3 separate regions of the Homo sapiens genome follow, and all the other regions are linked to region 1. Evidence: promoter capture Hi-C in 16 types of primary human blood cells and fetal thymus (Javierre and others, 2016). All regions are on one chromosome and are shown on one strand. The core of a region is centred on a gene start or on the middle of the fragment in contact, and the rest is flanking DNA. Distances in the headings are between cores, read along the strand shown. Region 1 holds the start of KRT76 (keratin 76). Region 2 holds the start of KRT6B (keratin 6B). Region 3 holds the start of KRT6A (keratin 6A).

Region 1 (5,108 bases), core at 1,946-4,445:
GCATTATCATTTTGCACTGAGGCCTGAAAATCACGTAGCTGGTCCTGTCCAGAGACCTCTCAGAGCTCAGGGCACTGCCTGGCCCTCTTCCCTCTAAATGCAGTGATGGGCAGAGGTATGGGCAGTCAGTGAGAGGGCAAACTTCAAGGAGCCTGACCACTTGCCTAGGCTCTTTGATTGACTTTGCAAAGCACAATGTGTGCATATGGAACCCAGTGAAATGTGTGCTCTCATTGGGCATTTCTGCCTATTTCCTCAGTTTCTGTTTTCCTTCATTACAGTTACTTCTTATAGGAATTTCAGTTAAGAAAGAATTCATACCTTCTGAATGCATCAAAGTTGTGGGATTCCTGCCTGTTAAGGACTAAAATCTACTACCAAGAGTTTGTATTTCATAAAGCTTGAGGAATTGGACTGATTCTAGGAGAAAAGAGGTCTCTAGGCAGGACCTCTTTTTTTCCTCTAGGAGAAAAGAGGTCTCTGGGATCTCTTTTGGGAATATGAATCTGAGTTGCCACTGAATTCCCAGAGCCCAGCACAGAGCCTGCCACAGAGTGGGTGCCCACCACGTTTGTGTGGTTGAATTGGAATAGGGCCTCTGCAGAGCAGGTGTGCCCGTCCCTGTGGGTTCTGATCCCTGGGGAAGTCGGGAGCTCCCTCCCACCTTGAGAGGCCCAGTTTGCTCCTTGCAGACCTCAGCGGATATGGACTGCAACTTGGAACGTGGAGGAGGAGGCAAACCAAAGCTGCAGAACAGGAGATTGGACGGGACACACTGATAAAGGCCTTTACCAAGTGCAGCCCTGGACCTCTGCCTAGAATCCCCAGGAGCTAGGGGAACACTCACACTCCTGGGGCCTGTCCACACCTATGATTCAGAATACCTAAGACTGGAATACAGGAATACGCATTGTTGACAAGCATCCAAGGTGATTCCTGTGTCCAGTCAAGTGTGGCGGACTCCCCATCCTAAAGGATTCTAAACTCTGGGAGGACTCTTTTGTCCCTCTGGGCTGGAATAGGAGGGGGCCCATCTGGAGCCTGAAATCTGTGTCATAGCCACATGGGAGTCTCAGTCCCCACCCTTTCACCCCCTTCTGCTTTGTCATGTTTCACTCAATAAATCCATCCCAGAGTATTGACTGAAGGCACAGTTGGGAACAGTTGAAATCCCAAATTAGGACCACACCTCCCTGCTAATTCCCCAGAAGGGGAAACTTCCCAGGAGGAGCCCTCACTTCTTTTTGAAGTCTTCCACCAGGTCCTGCATGCTTTTCAGCTCTCCCTCCAGGTTCCCCCTCTCCCCTAGAAGTGAATCTAGCTGCTTGCATAGGAAGCTGATGTAGGATTCAAAACAAGGCTCCAGGCTGCTGGGCCCTGAGCCTGTGGTCTGCTGCTGGAGCAGTTCCCACTTGGTCTCCAGGACCTTGTTCTGCTGTTCCAGGAACCGCACCTGCATGAAAGAGGGGAGAAAAGGAGTCAGCCCCTTGAGTTGGGCATGTGGGGCTGCCCATCCCAAATGTAGAACTGTGGAGAAGGAACCCAGTTCTTCAATCTACAATTTCCCCTGTTTTTTAATTTGGGAAGGATGAAGATTTAGCAAAGGGAGAGCTAGAATTTGTTGAGTGATTATGCCTTACCTGTTATTTTCATGTATTTCCGTCACATTTAATCCTCACAACCACCTATAAAGGAGTTGCTGTGATCCCCATTTTGTAGATAAGGAAACTGAGACTCAAAGAGTTTAAGTTTCCCAAAGTGACAAGTCTACTGAGTGACAAAGCTAAGAATCAAACCCAGGACTGTCCTGGGTCTATAGGGATCCTTCAGAATACCACTGAAGGAGGTAAGCACAAATAAAGTTTGTCATTGTTTTTTAGATGTAAGCTTTTTTCAGCTCCATAAAGGCAGTGAATACAGTCAATGAGGTCTAACATTTCTTTAGAAGTTTCACATAGGAAGACCTCCTTTCAGTTATTCAGCTTGCAGCTGAACTAGAATTCACTTCAGATCCTGGGCTCAGTCCCACACAGACCCAGAACACCCTCCTCTGCCCCAGCATGGACAGCTCAGTTTAATTATTGGCTGAAGCACAGCATCATCTGGAAGGTAAGGCAGCTGCCAATGCACCTCATTTAGATGCAGCCTCAAGATCTGTGCTAACACAAGGTTTTGATTACCAGCTACTTTGGATTATCAAGCAATTGCTTTTCAGGAGAAATTAAAGTAACTGCAATAATTTCATGACTAAAATGGCTCATTCTTCAAAAAGCTAAGAGCATGTTTGGACCCCCACTTCATTTACCCTCATCTCATTCTTAGCAGGAAACCAGGACCAGGAATTCTTCCCCCCATTTCACAGCTGGAAAAAGAAGGCCCAAAAAGTGAAAGGGGCATGATCACTGTCCTGTAGGGACCAAGACAGCACCAGGACAAGAGCCAAGCGCCCCTGCCCTGTGTCTCACAAGTCCCCATGGCATCTTTCTACACCGACCCCTGGGCACCCCAAACCCTCCACAGCACCTCTTGGCCTTGCCCTCACCTTGTCGATGAAGGAGGCAAACTTGTTGTTGAGGGTCTTGATCTGTTCCCGCTCCTGGGCCTTTACTTGCCCAATCTGGGGGTCGATCTCCACATTGAGGGGCTGCAGGAGACTCTGGTTTACAATCACTTCCTGAATTCCCCCAGGAAAGCCCCCAGGGCCAAAGCCACCAGGACCACCAAAGCTGCCAGGCCCACCAAATACACCAGGACCACCAAAGCCACCAGCTCCACCAAAGCCACCAGCCCCTCCAAAACCACTACCTACTCCTCTGCCACCACCAAAGCCACCACCATAGCTGCCCCCAAAGCCACCTCCATAGCCACCTGCAAAGCCACAGCTGCTCCGCCCTCCCCCAAAGCCTCCAGCCCGGGAGCTGCCAGCTGCCACGCTGATGGAGATGCTCTTGTTGCTGCCCAGGTTGTAGAGGCTGCGACTGCCAAAGCTGCCTGCTCCGCTCCTGAAGCCACAGGCCCCTCCACCAGCTCCCCCAGAGCGGGCCACACAGCTCATCCTGCTGCTGCCGGAGACCACAGCAGAGCGGCCAGAGAAACCCTGGCTCCTGCCACTGAAGGATTTCTTGCAAACTTGTCTGTTCATAGTGAGAGAGCTTGGAGGCAAGCTAGTGATCACTTAGCAAGAGCTGAGAGGGATAGGGACAAGAGAGGAGACTGGCCTTTATATAACAGGGAGTTTGGCTTGGCAAAAGGAGAGGCGAGCAATTAGTTGAGAATCATCTTGGGTTTGGTTTGCCTCGTAGGCATTAAGTTACTTCTTGGTTCCCAACACACCTCAGAGATAATCCTCTGGGCCAGAGTGGCTTTGCTTTCTTAGCTTAATCACCTAAACTTGCCTCAGTTGACAAAATGCTGGAGCTCTCCTCCCTCCCTTTTTGTGCTGTCCTCAAGGGTTTCAGGGAACCCAAGCAGCACCTGATCCAGCAGGAGGAAGCAGCTTTAGACACCAGGTGATCCGGAGCCATGAGCTCCCTGACACAGGGGGGTGAGGACCAGGCAACCTCTTCTGAGTGGGCTGGGTCCCTCCCTGCAGCACCACAGTGTCCACAGGCTCCCACAGTGGCTGCGCCCGTCTCTGCCATCATTAGGCCTTTTCTTCCAGTGGCATGTCACCTGTTCCCAACTCTTCAGAGGGCCTGGAGTGGGAGCGGAAGTGAGAGGGGCCCAGACCCATAGAGTCTGCTCTGCCAGCACCTCAGCCAAAGGCATCCATCTCAGCAAACCTGGAGTTTGGGCTGAGAAATGCTACTTATGGGGAAGAAATTACAGTGGAGGTAAACACGTCTAGCTCCTGGAACAGGGAGCAAACAAGTATGAGGTTTGGGAAGAAGAGGGGGCATGCACTGTGGAGAGCCTCAGACCAAGCCCTCCCCCCACCATCCTAGACTGACAGCAGGCAATTTCTGGACCCAGAAGCAAGAGGAGACAGAATCTGGTAACCCTCCAGCTGGCTGGTAGAGTCGGCTCAAGCACCCCATTCATCTTAGGAGGACAGTGTATCTTGTGTCTAGGCCCCAACTCAGATCTTCTGGAGGGGATCCCCTCCCTGCTTTACCCCCTGGTCTGGGTCAGATGCCCCTCCTTGTCTTCCCACCATACCCTGTACTTTTCCCATCGTGAACCTGACATAAAGTATACTTACCTGCTTACTTGTCCATACCCCTCCGGTCCCTGAGCTTCTTGAGGGCAAGGCTTGAGTCCTGCCCATTCTAAATTATCCTAAATGTCCAGCTCCTAGCATAGGGTAAGCACAGCACAAACGTGTTAACTGACTGATGACTGATGTCTAAGAATGCAAATACCTAAAACCAGCTCCCACCCCAGCCCTATGAATGAAAATCTTCAGAGGAAAGGGTTGAGAGTTTGCATTTTTAACAAGCCCTCCAGGTCATTCTTATAATGCGGAAAGTCTGGGAAACCCTGGTCTAGACCATGGCTACACCATATGGGCCAGGAATAGGAGGATGGAGGACCCCTGATGGCAGAACGAATGACACATGATGAGTTACTGCTGTCACTGCCAAGAGCTCAGCAGACCCCAAACCCCATCCAACCCACCTCCGCACCCAAACACACCACACAGGGCAAGACCAAATCCTCAGGTTGTCGTCTGCATAGGAGATTTCACACATATGACAGGAGCAGGTGGCACTGATTCTAGACTCCCTGAGAAATTGGTGGGGGGTCTATCTCCAGAATTCCAGCCAAACTGGCAGTGGGCGCTCTGTCTTTCTGAGTTTCTGGTTTCTGAACAGTCCAGTCTAGGGGAGAGAATTGGTCTGAGAACCTTGGAACCACCTTGAGTTGAGTGACTTCAAGAGCTTTGCAGCTAATTCTCAGCTCTCTGCTCTGCAGCTTATCTGGCGTCAGATCCCAGATCCACTATCCACCAACTTTTAGGCCTTGGACAAGTTACTTAACTTTTATGTGTCTGCTTTATCAATTGTAAAATGGGGCTAAGAATGGCAAGTACTTTATGGGGTTGTTGTGAGCATTAAACAAGTTAAGTAAATATAAAATGCTTAGCCCAGTGCTTGACACATAGCAAG
Region 2 (5,108 bases), core at 1,169-3,668, 330 kb before region 1:
AGTAAACAGAAGGATGGTGGAGTTGCTTACTGCATCATACAAGGCTCTCAGGAAGTTGATCTCATCTGTAAGAGTGTCTGCCTTGGCTTGCAGTTCAACCTTGTTCATGTAGGCAGCATCCACATCCTGGGGAAAGAGCCAACAACCTGGAGTTGCCTGAGCTCACCTTTCCAATCTACCCATCTTCTAGTCCTCCTGCCAATTCTCCTCTCCCAGGGGAGCGAGGACACAGAGCCACTTCTCTCCTTCTAAATGAATTTGAACCCCTGGCTTCATCTGCTCACCTTCTTCAGAGTCACAAATTCATTCTCTGCTGCTGTGCGCTTGTTGATTTCATCCTCATATCTACAGGAAGAAAGGCATGGGACACATTTGAGCCAGTGGGTAGGATGAAACAGAAAAGCAGCTTGGGATTCAACATTTTCCTGAATGGAATATATTCTAATTGAGCTTTCCTGCCACAGAGAGCCAAAGAGATGAATTTTGCTACTACTAAATTTGCCATTTCTTTAATCTCCCCATCCTCCCATAACCATCTGTGGTTCTTGCAGGTTTGCTCCTAGGGACTAATTTGTGCTTTTCATTTCCATGGACATGGGTTGTTAGGAATCCTACACACATCTGGCCCTGGTCACCCAATAGTCTTGAAGTGTGTGCTGCAGGAAATGGAGTCCTCACTTGTTCTTGAGGTCCTCCACCAGGTCCTGCATGTTTCTCAGCTCCGAGTCCAGACGACCCCGTTCCCCCACGATGTTGTCCAGCTGCCTCCTGAGGTTGTTGATGTACTGCTCGAACAACGGCTCCAGGTTCTGCCTCACAGTCTTGGTGCCCTGCTCCTGCAGCAGGGTCCACTTGGTGTCCAGAACCTTGTTCTGCTGCTCTAGGAACCGCACCTGGAGGGGAAGCAAAATGGTCATTTTCCAGGAAAAGGAAGGCAGAGAAAGTGTCTGGTATCCAGTTTCCTGGAGGTCTGGGAGGTCCCCATGGTGCTGGGCTACTACAGTGCATGTAGAGAGGCTCAGGCTGAGCTCTGCTCCCCCAACTCCTTCTCCTTTGCACCCCACCAGTCTCACTAGAGAAATTGTCCCACGGACCACTGAGGTGTTCTCGCACTGTAAGCTATTGATCATCAGTGAGTTTCAACATTTCTTCTTTTCTTTTTCCAAGCACAATCACAAATCTAGTTTAAAAATACTAATTACCTGATATATTGTACACAGTTTTTTTTACCGAGAGGATCTTAGTTAGGAGGGATATTAGATGTTGACTCATGATTACATTTCAGTCTACTTTCCCATTTAGTGTCTCCTCTCAAATATTCTGATGTTATGGTCATTCTCTGTTTTTAAAATTAATTAGCATTTATCCATGTTTTACAGTTGTTTCTATGTCCCTTTTTTTCTTAATCCAGCCAGATTATCTTTTCCTTTTCTTTCTAAATCTTTTTCCTCTTACCCAGACCCCAGAGTGTAATTTACCAGCCCATATACTCCTGGCATTTGCTTTGTAATCTCTTAAACACTTCAGAGGGGAGAATTAACCTACTCCACTCTCTGATGGCCTCATCTGTGCTTCAGGGTTATGAAAAGTTATGGCTCTCCCTAGGCAGGAGTGAGGGCCACTCCAGATATCCCATGGGGGAGTGATGCCCATCTGTGCTGCCTCCTGTGCACCGAGAGCCACCTGCACTCTCTGCAGAGCTGGGCTGAGTCCCCTTCTCCCTCCCTCCTAGGGTCTCTCCGGCAGGAAGGTGTTGCTCTTCTGGTCTGGGGACCCTGAAGTGCCCGATGGAGGGCATGGCACTGGCTCACCTTGTCGATGAAGGAGGCAAACTTGTTGTTGAGGGTCTTGATCTGCTCACGCTCCTCGGCCCGCACCCGCTGGATGGCGGGGTCAATTTGCAGGTTGAGGGGAGTCAGGAGACTCTGGTTGACAGTGACCTCTTGGATGCCTCCAGGGGGGCACACAGGGAAGCCAGGGCCCCCAAAGCCACCAGCAAGGCCGGCTCCACCACCCAGACCAAAGCCAATGCCGGCTCCACCACCGAAACCAAATCCACTCCCGGCGCCACCAAAGCCATAGCTGCCTCCGGCTCTGCTGCCATAGCCGCCACTGATGGCACAGCTGCCCCCTCCAATGGAGATCCTCTTGGAGCCCCCCAGGCCATACAGACTGCGGCTGCCAAAGCCAGCTCCTCCACATGCGCCACCCAGGCCACCACTGCCCCTGGAGCGGGACACGGAGATGCTGCTGAAGCCAGAGCGGCTGACCCCAGGGAGCCTGGCTGAGTTGGCACTGAAACCCCGGCGGCTGCTGCTGTGGCTCCTGATGGTGGTGGATGTGCTGGCCATGGTTCCAGGAGATGAGAGGGCTTAGGAGAGTGTGAGAGGCTGGAGGCGAGAGGGAGGAGAAGCAGGACGAGGAATCGGACTCCAGTAGCAGCTTATATATGGAGAGCATGGGCTGGGCCCAGTCCTGGAAGGTGAGCTTGCAGGTTGGGAAGGGCTGGGCTTTACAAATAGTGAGATCACACCTGCATTATTACAAAAGTTATGAAATACCGAGATTGCATTTTTCGCTTCCTTTAGTCAGGCAAAATGTTCCTGCCTCCAGCTTTGACTTGAGATCTCAGCACAATAAGAGTATTCTCAATTCATGAAGTTGGAATTAGTCACTGTCTTCAGCAAAGGTTCTGCATGCTAGGCTGTTTATCGACATGCCCTGAGTGCCCTCCTCTTCCCAGTCTGACTTTCTTCCAGCCTTGCTGTTGGAGATCACAGGCACTGTATTGTGAATTCCTTAACAGAAATATTACAATTTCCCCATAATTGTTTCACCTTTTAGGTGCAATTTTAAACAGGTAGAGAAGCAGAACACTGCAATGGGCCTGTATATACCTGTCACCTGCTTCCATGATGATCATCTCATGGCCAGCCTGATTTCTTTCATACTTCAACCCTATTTCCTCTTCCATTCTAGATTGTTTGAAAGGAAATTCCAGAAGTCATATTATGTCTTCAATCAATAATTCAATATTAATATCTAAATAATAGGTCCTTTAAAAAATCAAAACACTATTTTTATATCTTAAAAATTTACATACTAATTAAAATGAACAAGTGTCTATTTAGTCTTCAAGCAGTCCTATTTTTGATATATATTTCTTATATTTTGGTGTCCCAATCAGAGTCAAAATAAGCTCTATAAACGTTGTATTTGAGTGATATATCCTTTAAATCATTGAAATTTAAAAATCTCCCTTCATTTCTTACTTTTATTTGTTAAATAAAACAGGTTAACTGTTCATTGTACTTTTTCATTCTTGGGATTTTTCTAATTGCATACCCCTATTGTTTCCTTTAATATGAGACTCTAACCTTCATATTTCATATTAAAATTAGAAGCTTATTAAGATTCTGTCTATATTTAAACATTCTAGAAGTAAATGTAGTAGATTGCCCATTTAAATTTTGAATAGTACTATTTGCACAATTATTTACATGTTTACAAATTGAATACATGATACATGTTTTAAAAAATTTTTTGTAAAACATGCTAAACAACAAAATAATATAGCTCAAGGCCATTCCCCAGTTACCCAATTCCTATCTATGGAGGAAGTAATGTTAGCAGTTCCTTGTGTATCCTTGTATCTTTACTTGGATATTTTCCTGTGCTTTTCCTGGGCCATGGGTGACATGTCTGTGCATATGTGTTTGTGTCAACGTGTGTTTGTATGGGTGAGGAAGAGGTGGAGGGAGTTGGCATATATAGAGAGGGAGCCTGCATTGTAGAAAGGTATATAAATAAATACATGAATGTTTTGTGTGTATGTGTTTGAGTGTGTTTTATGTATATAAAATATTTCATGTATTCATATGTACAAAACATAAAAATATTGTCTTTTTCAATTGTGATTGTGTTGTGTCTGCTTTGTCTCCCACATCTATGTTTTCTGATTCTCTTTTTAACAGTCTCTAGTCTCTTTTTCATAGCTGTTTGCTTTTCCCAGTTATTCGAGGACATTTCTCCCAAATGTCCATTACTGTCTGTTTACCAATGTCTTTCCTCCTTATGCCGCTTTCAATTTGGGCTTCATTTCTTTTTTCTTTTCTTTTTTTTTTTTACACAGAGTCTTGCTCTGTCACCCAGGCTGGAGTGCAATGGCATGATCTCGGCTCACTGCAACCTCCGCCTCCCAGGTTCAAGTGATTCTCATGCCTCAGCCTCCCAAGTAGCTGGGACTACAGGTACCTGCCACCATGCCCGGCTAATTTTTGTATTTTTAGGAGAGATGGGGTTTTAGCATGTTGGCCGGGCTGATCTTGAACTCCTGACCTCGTGATCCACCCGCGTTGGCCTCCCAAAGTGCTGGGATTACAGGCGTGAGCCACCGCACCTGGCCAATTTGACCTTCATTTCTAAGCAGGACTTTGTTGTTATCTCTACCCCTTTTCTGTGCTCCACAAATGAATATTTTATCTTTTACCTGTCTCACTATATTTTGTCTTCTTTTTCCCACTTTATAGTGTTTATTTTTTAGTATTTTATTGTGCCTTTTTCTGTTGAGAGTTTTTATGAGTCTTTTTTTTTTTTTTGCCTATTTTTTTCAATTTTGAATGCACAGACCTTTTCTGAGTCCTGGCATGGTTCCTTTCTGACTAGTGCTTATTTTTAATGAGATGAGCCCCCTCTGGACCTGCGGTTTGTAGAAAGTATTATGGGTGGATGAGCCAGGGCCATATCCAGGCTAACAGGAGTTCTGATTGTGACACAGGGCTGTGTGAATAGTTCTTTTATTCTTTCATTCAGCCAAACCAATAAAGATCACTGCAGAGTGGCTCACAATTTACAGCCTCTTTGTTTTCTTTGCCTCACAATAAAATGCTACTAGTTGACCTTGTCTCTCTTCTTATTCAAATTTGCCTTCATAGTTTCTTGAAACTTCATGACAAGCAGGGTCCTGGCTCGTGCTCACACACCCAGTTGTGATAGTTGCAAATAAGGGATTCTTGGATTTTCACAGGAGGACATGCCCTTTACATTGATTTAGTTGAGGAAAATGAGTCAACTGTGCCTGGCATGTAGTAAAACCTCACTGTTAGGCT
Region 3 (5,108 bases), core at 609-3,108, 280 kb before region 1:
TTGTGCTCTTCATTTCCACGGACATGGGTTGTTAGGAATATTACCCCCTTCTGGCCCTGGTCACCCAATAGTCTTGAAGTGTGTGCTGCAGGAAACTGAGTCCATTTCTCCTGTTTAACTCACTTGTTCTTGAAGTCCTCCACCAGGTCCTGCATGCCTCTGAGCTCTGAGTCCAGGCGGCCCCGTTCCCCGACAATGCTGTCCAGCTGCCTCCTGAGGTTGTTGATGTACTGCTCGAACAACGGCTCCAGGTTCTGCCTCACAGTCTTGGTGCCCTGCTCCTGCAGCAGGGTCCACTTTGTTTCCAGAACCTTGTTCTGCTGCTCCAGGAACCGCACCTGAAAGAGAGACAAGATGATCATTTTCCAGGCAAGGGAAGGAAGAAAAAGTGTCTGGTATCCGGTTTCCTGGCAGGTCCGGGAGGTTCCCATGGTGCTGGGCTACTACAGTGCATGTAGAGAGGCTCAGGCTGAGCTCTGCTCCCCCAACCCCTTCTCCTTTGTACCCCACCAATCTCACTAGAGGAATTGTCCCACGGACCATTCAGGTGTTCTCACTCTCTAAGTTATTGGACATATTAATGAGTTTCAACATGTCTTTTCCTTCTTTTCCCAGCCAAAATTACAAACATAGTTATAAAATAGTATTCATCTGATAAATTTTACACAGTTTTTATTACTGATAGGACCTCAGTTAGAAGAGATGTTAAATGTTGCCCAATGATTTGATTCCCGTCTTATTTCCCATTTGTGCAAGTCTCTCCTCTAAAACATCCTGATGTTATGGTCATTCTTTGTTTTGAGGATTAATTAACATTTCCACATAACGTATAAACGTTTTAAGTCTTTTTTTTCTTAATCTAGCCAAAATATCCTTTCTTTTGTTTCCAATATTTTTTCCTCTTATCCAGACCCCAGAGTGTAATTTACCAGCCCGTGTACTCCTGGCATTTTCTTTGACGCTTCAAAGGGAAGAGTTAACCTACTCCATTCTCTGATGGCCTCATCTGTGCTTCAGGGTTATGAAAAGTTATGGTTCTCCCTAGGCAGGAGTGAGGGCCACTCCAGAGATCCCATGGGGGAGTGATGCCCATCCCTGCTGCTTGCTGGGCACCAGCAGCCATCTGCACTCTCTGCAGAGCTGGGCTGAGTCCTCTTCTCCCTCCCTCCTAGGTCTCCCTGGCAGGAAGGTGTTGCTCCTCTGGTCTGGGGACCCTGAAGTGCCCCATGGAGGGCATGGCACTGGCTCACCTTGTCGATGAAGGAGGCAAACTTGTTGTTGAGGGTCTTGATCTGTTCACGCTCCTCAGCCCGCACCCGCTGGATGGTGGGATCGATTTGCAGGTTGAGGGGAGTCAGGAGACTCTGGTTGACGGTGACCTCTTGGATGCCTCCAGGGGGGCACACAGGGAAGCCAGGGCCCCCAAAGCCACCAGCAAGGCCGGCTCCACCACCCAGACCAAAGCCAATGCCGGCTCCACCACCGAAACCAAATCCACTCCCGGCGCCACCAAAGCCATAGCTGCCTCCGGCTCTGCTGCCATAGCCGCCACTGATGGCACAGCTGCCCCCTCCAATGGAGATCCTCTTGGAGCCCCCCAGGCCATACAGACTGCGGCTGCCAAAGCCAGCTCCTCCACATGCACCACCCAGGCCACCACTGCCCCTGGAGCGGGACACGGAGACGCTGCTGAAGCCAGAGCGGCTGACCCCAGGGAGCCTGGCTGAGTTGGCACTGAAACCCCGGCGGCTGCTGCTGTGGCTCCTGATGGTGGTGGATGTGCTGGCCATGGTTCCAGGAGATGAGAGAGCTGAGGAGAGTGTGAGAGGCTGGAGGAGAGAGGGAAGAGAAGCAGGACTAGGAATCAGGCTCGGGGCAGCAGCTTATATATGGAGAGCATGGGCTGGGCCCAGTCCTGGAAGGTGAGCTTGCAGGTTGGGAAGGGCTGGGCTTTACCAACAGTGAGATCACACCCAGTTTCTAGAAAGGTATGAAATATGAAGATTGCTTTTTGGCTTCCTTTAGTCATAGAGAAATTCTCCTGCCTTCCAGCCTTGACTTGATCCTAACACAATAAGCCCGGGTATACATTCACTGAAGTCATGAGTTAGTCATGTCCTCAAACAAAGGAGACAAGGAGCTGATCTGTGATAATTGTCCCCTCCTTCTTCTTCATCAGACACTCCCTGTGTGCCCCCTTCCCACACAGGTTTTCTACTCCACTTGCACCAGCCTCACCCTCTGAGTGGGATCCTTCCTGAGGGCGTATGGGCATTTGCCCGATGGCCTGAGCAAGAAGTAGCCTGTTGTGTTTTTTCCACTGCATTTGGACCAGTTCTTCTGGAGCTCCTGGCTGTCCTCCCTTGTGTCCTGGACATAGGAACGGGGTCTGCTTTGGGGATCTAACCCTCCTTTGTCAGGCAAGAGGGACAGAGGAGTTGAGTCTTTACACTGTAGGAGCAACATTTGTTCTGTGTACTGTGTGATCACCTGCCCACATGCCGTTTACCTAAAATGAAGGGAGCAGACATTGCCCAGGGTGCTCAGAGACCTGACTTCTGCCAGGAGTTTCTTTCCATATCTGCACCTCTCTCTCCAGTGCTTGCTTTCCTATTGAGCTTAGTCTCATGTAAATCTGCCTTTCCAGTTGAAATTTATAGACACCTTCTCCCTGCTGTTTTGGAGCATTTACATAGAGCTTAATTTAAACAACGGAAAATGAGTGATATAAAAATCATTAAGGAATTCACTGGATTTTTATTCCCACAGATTTTGACATTTCTTAAGAATCAAGAGTCAGACAGTTTAATTGGGTGTGTAGGGAAAGTCAAGGGGCATATGGAAGCTGTGAATCATAAAATTGTGCCCTTACAAGTGTGATGATGTAACATGTCAATTCCACATTTTAATTTCTGATCTCAGTGCTTGAAATCTCAAATCCATATACACCTTCTGGGAGGGTGGGCAGGCTGACAAAGGTGAGTGTGCTTGGTTTACAGAGGAATGAGCTTCACTTCTCCAGTCCATGCATTAAGCACTGTGCATGAGGAGAATGGAGAGCAATCCTGGGCAATATTGTTCTGTGAGAACCTATGGATAAATGAGCAACCGCAGGAGGAAGAACAAACTCCCATGCTAAGAAGAGCCTCAGGAAAGCTCTTGTTACTATTTTAAAAGCAGTCCCATTTCTCCAACATTTGGAGGGGGGGACACAGCATCCAGGAGAACAGGGTGTTCCCTGTCTAAAGGAGGTGCTAACTCAGCGTCTGGCAAGAACGAGATACCTTCTCAAGACAACGGAAGCAGCTCCCCTCCCTCCACCCTGGTTGCACAATGGTTGACCAAGAATGTGCTTCCACCCAGTTCTGGGAAAGAAGTGTTCCTTCTGGTATGTGCTCCGACCCACTCTACTCTCTTGGGATAGAGGCTTTAGGCTTGGCATGAATGATGCTAGGATGGGTAAGAAGGGTTGGCAATTCAGGTGGGAGCTATATGCATTTACCCAGTGTCCTATGTCTGTGTCAATGTCCAATGTCCACGGCTGCTTTCACACTACAAAGACAGAGCTGAGTAGTTACAACAGAGATTGTATGCCCTGCAAAGCCTAAAATAGTCACTATTTGTCCCTTTAAAGAAAACATTTGCCAACCCCTGGTTAAGAGCATGGACTTTGGAGACAGAGGGCTCAGGTTCATGACCAAGCACCTGGGTGTCCCTCTGCACTTTCTTAAACCCTTTGTGCCTTGTTTTTACACCTGTAAACTGGGAGTGAACATAGCACCGGCCTCAAAGTGCTATTGTGAGGCTTCAGTGAGATAATTAATTGAAGGTCTTAGCAAGGCATCTGGCATATAATTTCTCACCGAAGGTAAGCTAATATTATCATAGGAAAGTATGAAGACATTTTGTATGTAGAGGCCCACAAGAAGCGTCAAGAACAGGGACACAAGTGCAGGGTATGTGTGTGGGGGAGGAGGGTGGTTCAGAGACCGGTAAGAGAAATGAAACCAACATTGCAGGCTTGTGCCACATTAGTAAGGACTTAGGAAGCCATGTATAGAGGTTTGCCCTGCTCCCAGATGCCACACAGAGCCGCAGAAGGCAGAAGAGCAACAGGATCAGAAGAGCAATTTGCAAGCTTGCAGCCACTCTGCTGAGCAGCAGCATGGGGCAGACAGAGCTCCGCCCAGTGGGGGAGGCAGCATGTTGTCTGAGTGATTGGAAGGAAAGGTGGTTGGAGAGAGGATCCAACCTCTGAGTTCTTGGCAGGAGCCCAGAAGACTGCTCTCCCTCTTATGGAGTCAGGTTCCCCTGCCCATCCTCTGCTGGGTCTCAGGCTGTTCTCTGGGGTACACACACAGGGGCAGCTGCTATTAACCAGCAGTGCCAACTGCATCAGTTCCTTTTTCACTAATGAGTTCCTGTCTTTTTAAGTGTGGGGGTGAACTCATCCCTGAATAAAATATGTAATGTAATTCATTTAGTCTATCAGAGGATGGTTTAACTTCAACATCTTATTCAATCTAGGCTTGGTGTGTGCATCAGACAGCACCAGCAATATAAAGTGCCATGTTTAATTTCCTGACACCAGTGTATCTCCTTTTGCTAAATTTATATGACATTCTCTTATATATCTACTAAGAGGTTTTTTAAAAAAATTCCCATTCCCAGCTGCCAGGCATGCTCTGGGAACCAAGTCCAGTGACCCCATAGAGTGAGGTCAGCTGGGAGGACTCATGAGAGGTGATGAAGGGCTTCTAAGACAGTGGAGGGGGAGTTAGAGAGGAGGGAATCCTGCTGCTGCCGGAAGATCTATTTCTGATTCCACTTCTTCCCAGGCCCCACCACCACTAAAAGGGGAAGTTTGCACCTGGCTCATTTGCCATTGATTGTCTATGTCTTTCTTTGTCCTGGTGTGGGAGGTGCCTGTTGTTCCTGGCCTGCTTTCAGACAGCTGCCCTAGGCTGGGCCCTGTTCTTTTCTCTCCTGTGAGTCCAGCCCTCTCTGCCTCTGAGTCTACCTCTGCCAGCGACCACCTATCCCAGGAGAGGGTCATGTTCATAGGCAGGCCACCCTATCTACCCTGGATGGTTATTCTCAGGTGAAAC

Evidence for each region. Contacts are between HindIII fragments. The CHiCAGO score rates a contact against its expected background, and 5 or more counts as called.
Region 2: a contact is called between the fragment with the promoter of KRT6B here and the fragment with the promoter of KRT76 in region 1, in 5 of 17 cell types (total CD8 T cells, megakaryocytes, endothelial precursors and 2 more). The highest score is 8.3, in total CD8 T cells.
Region 3: a contact is called between the fragment with the promoter of KRT6A here and the fragment with the promoter of KRT76 in region 1, in 2 of 17 cell types (total CD4 T cells and neutrophils). The highest score is 6.1, in total CD4 T cells.

What each region holds. Positions count from the first base shown.
Region 1 is chr12:52,774,150-52,779,257 of GRCh38, forward strand. It overlaps KRT76 (keratin 76), which reads right to left and starts at 3,196. Exons shown (of 9, transcript NM_015848.4): 1 at 2,543-3,196; 2 at 1,239-1,453. The coding sequence starts at 3,142. The HindIII fragment of the contact is 4,392 bases long and covers 1,886-5,108 here.
Region 2 is chr12:52,449,728-52,454,835 of GRCh38, forward strand. It overlaps KRT6B (keratin 6B), which reads right to left and starts at 2,419. Exons shown (of 9, transcript NM_005555.4): 1 at 1,812-2,419; 2 at 679-893; 3 at 285-345; 4 at 31-126. The coding sequence starts at 2,351. The HindIII fragment of the contact is 8,192 bases long and covers 1-3,402 here.
Region 3 is chr12:52,491,399-52,496,506 of GRCh38, forward strand. It overlaps KRT6A (keratin 6A), which reads right to left and starts at 1,859. Exons shown (of 9, transcript NM_005554.4): 1 at 1,251-1,859; 2 at 124-338. The coding sequence starts at 1,790. The HindIII fragment of the contact is 6,361 bases long and covers 1-4,136 here.